Linked DNA regions of Homo sapiens: all the other regions are linked to region 3. The links are contacts of gene promoters, found by promoter capture Hi-C in blood cells and fetal thymus (Javierre and others, 2016). All regions are on one chromosome and are shown on one strand. Each heading gives the region's core, a stretch centred on a gene start or on the middle of the fragment in contact. The rest is flanking DNA. Distances are from core to core; before and after follow the strand shown. Region 1 overlaps CEP76 (centrosomal protein 76). Region 2 has its middle 3.8 kb from the start of PTPN2. Region 3 holds the start of MPPE1 (metallophosphoesterase 1).

Region 1 (3,064 bases), core at 444-2,943, 790 kb before region 3:
AAGTGCTGGGATTACAGGCGTGAGCCTCCGCGCCCGGCAGATATCAGGGTTTCTTTACCGCTGAAACATGTGGGTATCAGCGAAGTTGAACCAGGAGCTTCAATCAGCAATTCTCAAATAAGTCATGGAAGAGAAGTTACTAAAGGGTTTGTAATGACGGAATTTGTTAATATTTCGGAGCTCCAGAAGAACCTCCAGTTTCTGCAGCGCTCGCTCGACTGAGTGCAAGATGCTGAAGTGATAAAAGCGACCATTTATGGTGCCCTTGTGTGCCAGGCTTTGTGCTGTCTAGTATCTTTAATCCTCACAACACTATCGTGAGAGGGCACTACACTAGGTTTTTCCATTCTTATCGGTGACGAAACAGATTTATAAAGGGTAAATAAGTTGGCTTGAGGTTACACATCTACTAAGTTGAAAGCTGGTAAGATTCCCTTATCATTAGGCAGATCAAAGTATGAAAGTAATAAGATCATACTTTGATCTGCCTACTCCCAGTCCGTGTTCTTCTGATTATACTATACTCCCTCTCAGAAGATTCCTTTTGGTTGAGTGTTGTTTGTGGAGAAATGGTAACAAAGGTGCCAGATAACCAGTGGAGACTATTTCTAGAATTTGTACTCAAAAGATTCATTCTTTAAAAGCTTACCTTTGTTCCCATTCAATTGTGGTAACAATTGTGCATTTACTGTTAGCTGGAGAACCTTAAAACTTCAGAAGCAGTATTTGACTGCTTTGTGATGTTATAAATTGTAATATGAGTTTTCTACATAGATGGATGTCCATGGTAGAATAAGAGAAATCCTTGCTGAGACTATACGGGAAGAATTGGCACCTGATCAACAGCATTTATCAACAGAAGATTTGATCAAAGCCCTTAGACGTCGAGGAATCATTGACGATGTGATGAAAGAACTTAATTTTGTTACTGTGAGTAATCTTTTAGGGAAATAAATGAGAGTATATATGTATATACTAATGCGTAACACTACTTATAAGGTTCCGATGTGGGGCCTTTCGTTTTAGTAAAACCACTTCAAGGTCATTCTGTTTACTAGTGTCCTTGTTTCAAGTATAGGCTAGCTCTGCCCTTGAATATACTGAATAGTTTTGTGTATCAATGAAATTTGTGTTAGATATCTTATTCCTGTCTCTACAGTGACAGAATTTTCTCTTATTTTCTAGGTCTGTAAATTTGAATATACATACTTTAGTCCAATTAGTTCACCATAACAAAGTTCTTTTTCATTATGATCTGTAACTTTTTTAGATTAAGCGTATTTTTAAAATAAGCACTCTTTTGGGATTATATTCTCTATGATTAACAAATTACAAATTTCTTTAAGAAAATAATTGACTGCATAAGAGTCCTCAAATCTTTTAATACAAATAGGTCAATAATGGGATGATAGTCTCTCAGTGCACAATTAGTAAGTAGGCCTTCATTTGAAAGTGAGGCAATAATGGAAACTGTGACCTCAATACCTGGGTAATATAATGTGAAAATTGGATGGACTTCATAATACAATAGGGAATAAGTATTTTAATACAGCACCTTTTTTTGGTTTTTGAAGTTTATGAACCCGTTTGTTATAAAAATTGACCTAATAACAGCTTCTACTCTGTGATGACACTTTATTAAAATCAGCTCATAGTGGAATTATAAGCCAACTGTTACATAAGGTTTACAGAAAGTTTAACCTTGTTGAAGGTATTAAGGATTTGTTTTTAGCTTTATGTGGATAGTATTACTTGAAGACAGTTTAATTCCTTAGCATTTGATTTTAGGAGTGATCAGTTTACATCATCTTTTATGCAGGCTTTTATTTTCATTATTTTAATTAGGCTAGGAAAATAAGGGGTTCTTTGAAAGGGCCTTACCCTGTTGACTTTAGGTTCAGTGCTTAGTCATGTTTATTGACATTTCCTTAACCTATAATTGTTTTCTAATTTGTTTTGATTTTTTTTTCCTGCCTTTCTAGGACAGTGTTGAGCAAGAACTCCCTTCCTCTCCAAAACAACCTATTTGTTTTGATAGACAATCGACATTAAAAAAAAGTATGTATATTTTAACATTAATTTAGTTGTGGTTAATAGTAAATATTGATGTGGTGTAGTCTTTCGTATTTGATAGAAGACATTTCCATTTTTTCCCCCCAAAATAAAATACTTAAAATTTTATGGTTGGCTAAAACAGATTGTTTTGCATGAAGTATATCAGAAGAGTTAATGTATAGCACGGTAGAAGCAAAAACAGCATCACCAGTTTCTTGTGTTTTAATAATATGTTTTATAAAAACTGTACAGCCTTGCTTTTAAATATTAATATAATTGACAAATACACTTGCTGAATTGATAATTATATGAGTTGGTTTGTGAAGGTGGAGGAATGTTGGATAAGCAGTTAAAAAGCAAAAGTATACTACATATTGGCTCTGATGCCTTTTCCAGCTGGGAGAAAGTAGCCTGGATGTAAACTCAGAAAAGAATATCATATTTTGTGTATCTTCTCCCCAGAGTGCAAATGATTCTGGCATATACAGTAATAAATTTGTTACTCTTTTGCTTTTTTTTTAGTCTTTGGTATTGGGTTTTTATCTGTCAAGTTTTTATTTCCTAATGTCTTGATCACATTCTTTTAAGTTATTTGGCAGTTTCCTCATATATATTGCTACACTTTACAGCTAATATTGATCCAACACGGAGGTATCTTTACCTTCAGGTTTTGGGTGGAAAAGCTTTCTTGGAACATCTGCAAGAACCTGAGCCTTTACCTGGACAAGTTTGTTCAACGTTTACTTTATGTTTACATTATCGAAACCAACGTTTTCGTTCTAAACCTGTTCCATGTGCCTGTGAACCAGATTTTCATGATGGCTTTTTACTTGAAGTACACAGAGAAAGCTTGGGTAAGAAACAGTAATAAATTGTCATTTAATTGAGTAAATCTTTGTTATGTTTTATTGTGAAACAATAATAATGACTTTTTCTGTAAGGAGAGATTTATAATGGAGGAATCTCTATTTTGTTTCCCACTGCTCTTTTCAATTTAAACTACTATCCA
Region 2 (3,084 bases), core at 311-2,810, 980 kb before region 3:
AGTGAATCCCCATCTTGATCCTATGTGGCTCATATCTATCACTTTGTAATTGCTGGCAATTTTAGAGAATTTAGGTGCATTATGTGGCTTTGAAGCCATATACAGTCTTTTGCTATATTCACTAGGTGATGGTAGTTTATGAAATACTGTGTAAGATAATGTGCCTGGTTTCCATTTCTAAATGAAATACCGTTTATTTTTATTTAAATTAAAAAAGTTTTCACTCGAGTGAGGAATTTTTTAGTTTTATTGAGGTTAGCATACATATAATAAAGTCCAAAAAATCTTAAATGTGGAGCTCAATGACATTTTATACACACATGTACAAATACGTGTATATTATACACAACAGTGTACCACCAACCAAATCAAGATATGGAATATTTCCAGGACCCCTGAAGATTCTCTCATGCTTCTTCCCAGGCAACACCCCCACCCTACCAGAGGCAGCCCCCAGCTGCCTCCAGAGGTAATCACTATTCTGTTGTCTATTTTTGAACTTCATATAAAATGGAAACATATAGTTATGCTCTTTTGGATGTAGCACCATTTATTGAAGACACATTACTTTAAGCCTTTGTGAAATACACACACACAAAGATACACACCGGATGACTATATGTGTGAACCTGTTTCTGGACTTTGTTTAGTTCCACTGGTCAGCTTGCCTTGGTCAGCTTGCCTTTCCTTGCGTCGATACCACATATCTTTATAAGAGATCTTGATATCTGGAGGGATAATGTCTTCCAGATCTGTTCTTCTTGGCTACTTTTGGCCCTTGAGTTCTTCTTTAGACTCTATTCTGTTCCATTCTTCTATTTGTCTATCTTCACACTAAGAACACGCTGTTTTAATTATCGTAGCTTTAGAGTAAATCTTATTATCTGGTGAGGTAAAACTTCCATTTTCTTCTTCCTTAAGATTATTTTGGCTATTCTTGGCCCCTTGCATTTTTATTTGTAAATGGTAGCATCAGCTTGTCAATTTCCACTACAAAAATATGGTGAGATTTTGATTGAGATTGCACTGAATTCATACATGACTTTGAGAAGCACTGGCAACTTTACAATACTAAAGTTTCCAAGACATTACATCGTATATCCTTCCATTTATTTAGCTCTTCTTTCATTCCTCTGAGTGATATGTTGTGGTTTTCAGACTAGAGGTTTTGCTAATCTTTTGTTAAGAATTTTTCGGAATAGTTTATATTCCAATGTTTAAAAATTTTCTAGTTGCTGTTGCTATGTAGAAATACAACTGCTTTTTCTGCCGGGCGCAGTGGCTCACACCTGTAATCCCAGCACTTTGGGAGGCCAAGGTGGGCGGATCACGAGGTCAGGAGATCAAGACTATACTGGCTAACACGGTGAAACCCCATCTCTACTAAAAAATTAGCCAGGCGTGGTGGCGGGCACCTGTATTCCCAACTACTTGGGAGGCTGAGGCGGGAGAATGGCGTGAACCCAGGAGGCAGAGGTTGCAATGAGCTGAGATTGCACCGCTGCACTCCAGCCTGGGCGACAGAGTGACTCCATCAAAAAAAAAAAAAAAAATACAACTGCTTTTTCTTATATTGACTTTGTTTTCAAAGACATCTCTAAATTCAATTTTTTTTTCTAATTTTTTTATTTTTAGAGATGGAGTCTCACTATGTTACCCAGGCTGGTCTCCAACTACTGGCCTCAAGTGATCCTCCCACTTTGACTTCCCAAAGTGCTCGGATTACAGGTGTGAGCCACTGCACCTAGCCTAAATTCACTTATTAATCTAATAGTTGACCTGTAGATTACTTTGGATTTTCTATGTGTACAATATATTGGCTATAATATCAACTTTGTTTCATCCTTTCCAATCATTATACCACTTCTTAATTTTCCTCACTTGTTGCTATAACTATACAGTATAGAACAGAAGTGATGATAGTGGCCATCCTTATCCTGTGTCCAAGCTCAAGTGCGGGTGCAATCACTCAGAAAACTGTTCAGCAGTGTATGATGAACATATAGATACACTGCAATCCAGCAATCCCACTCCTAGACATATGCCCACAAGAAATGAGTGTATGTCTACCAAAAGACAAGGACAAACATGTCCTTAATGGTTCTCTTCATGAGAAGGCCAAACTGGAAACAACCAAATTCAGAACAAATAAATGGTAGTAGACTCAAACAATCATATGCTATTTAGCAGCAAGAATGAACAAACTATTCCTACAACGTGGATGACTCTCACTAACTTGAGCAAAAGCAGTCAGACATTAAAAAGCACATATTATATAATTAAACAAAGTTCAAAAAAGGCAAAACTAATCTACGGTGTTAGAGGGCTTGGGGCTGGTTACTCAAGGGGGAGGATTTAGGATGGCGCTCCAGGGGCTTTCTGGAGGAGAGATAAATTTCCTGTTCTTGGCCTGAGTATTGATAGACAGCTATGTTCACTCTGTAAAAACTCCCTGAGCTATGCACTTGTGATTTGTGTGCATTTTTGTGTATATTTCAATTAAAAGTTTATTAAAAACTACATATATTTAACTGAAGTTCATTCTCACTGTAATCTGTACAATCTGAATTTGTATAACAAATGTCTGCCCAGCTCTATAAATGTACAGCTCTTGTAGACACCAGGCTTTTAGGCTGTATTTTGATATGCTTGTGCCTCTGAAGTTCTAGCTATAAGGGTAGTCTGTTTGTGCTGCTATAATGAAATAGCTGCAACTGTGTCATTTGCAAATAACAGAAATTTATTTCTCACAGTTCTGAAGGCTGAGAAGTCCAAGGTCAAGGCACCAGCAGGTTTGGTGTCTGCTGAAGGCCCATTCCTCATGGTGCCACCTAGGGGCCTTCACATGGCAGGACAGAAGGGCAAAAACGGCCCAAGCTAATTCCCTCCAGTCCTTTTATGAGGCACTAATCAAATTCATGAGAGCAGAACCCTCATAACTTAATCACTTCCCCAAATGCCAACCTCTTAATACTGCCACCATGAGGATAAAGTTTCAACGTGAATTTTGGAGGGGACACCATTATTCAAACCACAGGAGGGGCTATGGGTAGTAAGTAGAGTTTTCTCTGAAAGGGGTATAAA
Region 3 (3,182 bases), core at 625-3,124:
GATGGTCTTGATCTCCTGACCTCCTGATCTGCCCGCCTCGGCCTCCCAAAGTGCTGGCATTACAGGCAAGAACCACCGCGCCTGGCCGCCAATGTTTTTAAAAATGCCATTTATTTATGTAAAAGTTTGTTTGTCTTAATCATGACCCAAACAAGGTCCACAAATTGCATTTGGCTAATGTGTCTCTCAAGGTCCCCCCACCCTCTTTTTTTTAAAGACATGGGGGGTCTAGCTGTGTTGCCCAGCCTGGAGTGCAGTGGCTATTCACAGCTGTGATCATAGCTCACTACAGCCTTGAACTCTGGCCTTAAGCAATCCTCCCACTTCAGCCTCTGAACATTTATTTTTGAAAAAAGAAATTGGGTCATTTGGTTTGTAGAATTTCCCACATTCTGGATTTGGCAGATTACTTCCTGGTGGTGTAATCTAATGGGTTCATTTGGCCCCTGTATTTCCTTTAGCCTGTGATTAGTGTTATAAGCTTAACTGGTTCTAGTTTCCCTTTCTTTGTTAGTCAGAGAGAATACTTTAGAGGTGAGGCTGCAAACAATCCACGGTGCCATATTAGTGTGTTTATGGAATCAGGCTGTCCCAGTTTCGATTATGTCAAAGTTGTTCACCTGATCATATCTGAAGATATTACAATATTCTTAATAATAATAACCATTTACCGCATACTTATTGTATACCAGGCATTTTGCTGGCTGTGTCCTATATAATTCCTCAAACCACATCTCCGTGTATTAACCACACTCATAGATTTGTGAAAATGTACCAGAATTGACTGGTTGGAAGGCTCTATGTGGATTATTACTCTGAGCATGTTTACTTCTTGAAATATGAAATAATGGCTCCTGCTTTTAATATACAGGCTTATTTTGAGGATTTTTTGAACGGATGTGAGAGCACTTAGAAAACTGGAACGCGCCGCGCTACACCATTAAAATTAGTAACATCAGTGAGAAAAAAGCAAGTGCATAATAAATATTATAGTTATCCTGATTGTCTCCTTTATTCATCACACACTTCCTAAGCACATCTCTGGAGGGCACTTTCCAAGGCTCCGGGGGAGGAGAGGAAAGAGGCGCAGCCAGGCCTGGTGGGTCCCGGAGGGGCAGCGCGGCGCGGGAGGGGAACGGGGAGGCACGGCCTGGCTGCCACCGCGCGCGGAACCCGGGAGCGGCTCCGGGGCTGTCAGCTGCCCGCCTGGCTCCTCCAAGGCCTGGAGCTCGGACGCGGGCTCTGGGGGCTTCTGGGGCGCGGAAGCGGGCTCGCGGGGAGCAGTGGCCGCCCCCGGCCGCCGCGGTGGCTGTGCTCAGAAGCCGGCCCTGGCGTCAGGAGGCCGGGCGCGCGGCGCGGGGCGCGAGTTCCCCTGCCCGCCTGTGCGCCCCGCAACGGGCCTTTCCTGGGCCCTAACGACAGCTCGCCCGTGCTTCGCCCTCGCAGCTCTCCTGTGTCCCCAAAATGCCTTTCCCGCGTCCCCCGCCCTTCAGCGGTGACTGCCCAGGGGACTCTGTAACGCGACACTCAGACTGCCGAGCCTGCCAGGCACTTCGCGGAGGGCGCTAGGGGCCGGGACGCGGCCGCCGAGCGTAGGTTCCGGCCTTTACTCCGAGTTGCGCACGGAGCCCCAGCTGCGGTTGTCCGCTCTGGGGATCACAGGCCGCGGAGACCCGGGAGCCACCCGCCGGGCCCCTTCAGACGACCCGCTTCCGCAAACCGGCCGTGGGACTCCGGCGCCGGGCGGACGAAGCGGCTCCGGGAAGACTCGGTCTTCCCCGCCCGCCTGAGGTCGCCGGGGCGGGGCTTCAGTGACAGGCCCGCGCGCTACCGCGGAAACAGGAAGTTGGCTGGGTGCGCGCCGGCTCCGGCTGCAGTTCCCGGGTCCCTCGGCCACCGAAGCCACCCTGCCCTGGTGAAAGGGCTCCCGCACCGCCCGGTGCTCCCCATCTGCCTGGCGTTGTGCGCAGAGCTGGAAAGCATGGCTGTTGTATGTATTCTTGCGCCCGTGTGACAACATTTAAACTTCTAAAAACGGAACCTCCTTCCGTGTTAGGATTGCAAGTTAACCTAGGAAAAACAGCATTCTGCAAATTATTTGCTGGAAAATCTCGGTGACTTAAGGCCCATGTATTACTTTGCAGGGGTCTCTCACTCTAGTTTGCTGGTGTAGATTTTTTAAAAAATCCATCTTATCAAAAAATACCGTTTAAGGTGGAAAATTTCAAATGCAAGTCGCAGTTGATGAGATTGCAATTAATATATTTAAGATAGTGAATTAGAGAAAAACTACAGGTCAGTGCATATTAAGTATTTTTTTCATATTTTGGGGGGATTAGATTTTTAACGATAACTTTGAAGTTAAAAATTAAAAGATAGGCTGGGTGCCGTTGCTTAGGCCTGTAATTCCAGCACTCTGGGACGCTGAAGTGGGAGGATGGCTTGATCCCAGAGATGCGAGACCAGCCTGGGCAACATAGCAAGTCCCCCGCCCCCACCATAACAACAAAAGTACCAAAAAAAAAAAAAAAAAAAGCCAGGTGTAGTGGCACGCACCTGAAGTCCCTGCTACTCGAGAAGTTGTGGGGGAAAGGATCGCTTCAGCGCAGGAGTTTGGGGCTGCAGCGAGCTGTGACGCAGCCTGCGGTTGACAAAAAGTCAAAACTCTATAAAATATTTGAAGGGATTAATTCTGAGCCAAATATGAGTGACCATGGCTGGTGACACAGCCATTTGGAGACCCTGAGAACGCGTACGCAAGGTGGTCGGGGCCCAGTGTGGTTTTATGCATTTTAGGGGAGCCATGAGTCATCAGTCAAATACATGTAAGATTAAGATGTACATTGGTTCGGTCCATAAAGGTATGACAGCTGAGGAGGTGGGTGGGTCGGGGGTTTCCGGGTTATAGGTAGATTGAAAATTTTCTGATTGGCATTTGGTTGAAAGATTTATTATCAATGGAAAGGAATGTTTGGGTTACAATAAGAGGCTGTGGAGACTGAAGTTTTATCATGCAGATGAAGCCTCCAGGTAAGTTAAGTGTCCAGCATGTTAAATGCTGGTCTGCTTTTCCTGAATTCTAAAAGGGAGGAGGATGAAATGTGTCAAGTTCCACCCCCACTTCCCATCATGGCCTAAACAAGTTTTGCTTAAAACAACCTAAAACAAGGTTAACTCTGGAA

The links. The method cuts DNA at HindIII sites, captures the fragments that hold promoters and counts their contacts. A CHiCAGO score of 5 or more calls a contact.
Region 1: a contact is called between a fragment that was not itself captured here and the fragment with the promoter of MPPE1 in region 3, in 3 of 17 cell types (naive CD8 T cells, total CD8 T cells and non-activated CD4 T cells). The highest score is 7.3, in naive CD8 T cells.
Region 2: a contact is called between a fragment that was not itself captured here and the fragment with the promoter of MPPE1 in region 3, in 1 of 17 cell types (neutrophils). The highest score is 7.1, in neutrophils.

What each region holds. Positions count from the first base shown.
Region 1 is chr18:12,698,824-12,701,887 of GRCh38, reverse strand. CEP76 (centrosomal protein 76) reads left to right here. Exons shown (of 12, transcript NM_024899.4): 2 at 775-930; 3 at 1,983-2,058; 4 at 2,685-2,909. It also overlaps a transcript of PSMG2 not described here. Among named protein-coding and RNA genes, the nearest start is that of CEP76, 2.4 kb to the left of the region's middle. RefSeq lists an enhancer at 1-20. The HindIII fragment of the contact is 2,094 bases long and covers 647-2,740 here.
Region 2 is chr18:12,886,491-12,889,574 of GRCh38, reverse strand. No RefSeq gene overlaps it. Among named protein-coding and RNA genes, the nearest start is that of PTPN2, 3.8 kb to the right of the region's middle. The HindIII fragment of the contact is 5,305 bases long and covers 1-3,084 here.
Region 3 is chr18:11,907,009-11,910,190 of GRCh38, reverse strand. It overlaps MPPE1 (metallophosphoesterase 1), which reads left to right and starts at 1,874. Exons shown (of 11, transcript NM_023075.6): 1 at 1,874-1,990. RefSeq lists a silencer at 1,082-1,481. The HindIII fragment of the contact is 5,797 bases long and covers 484-3,182 here.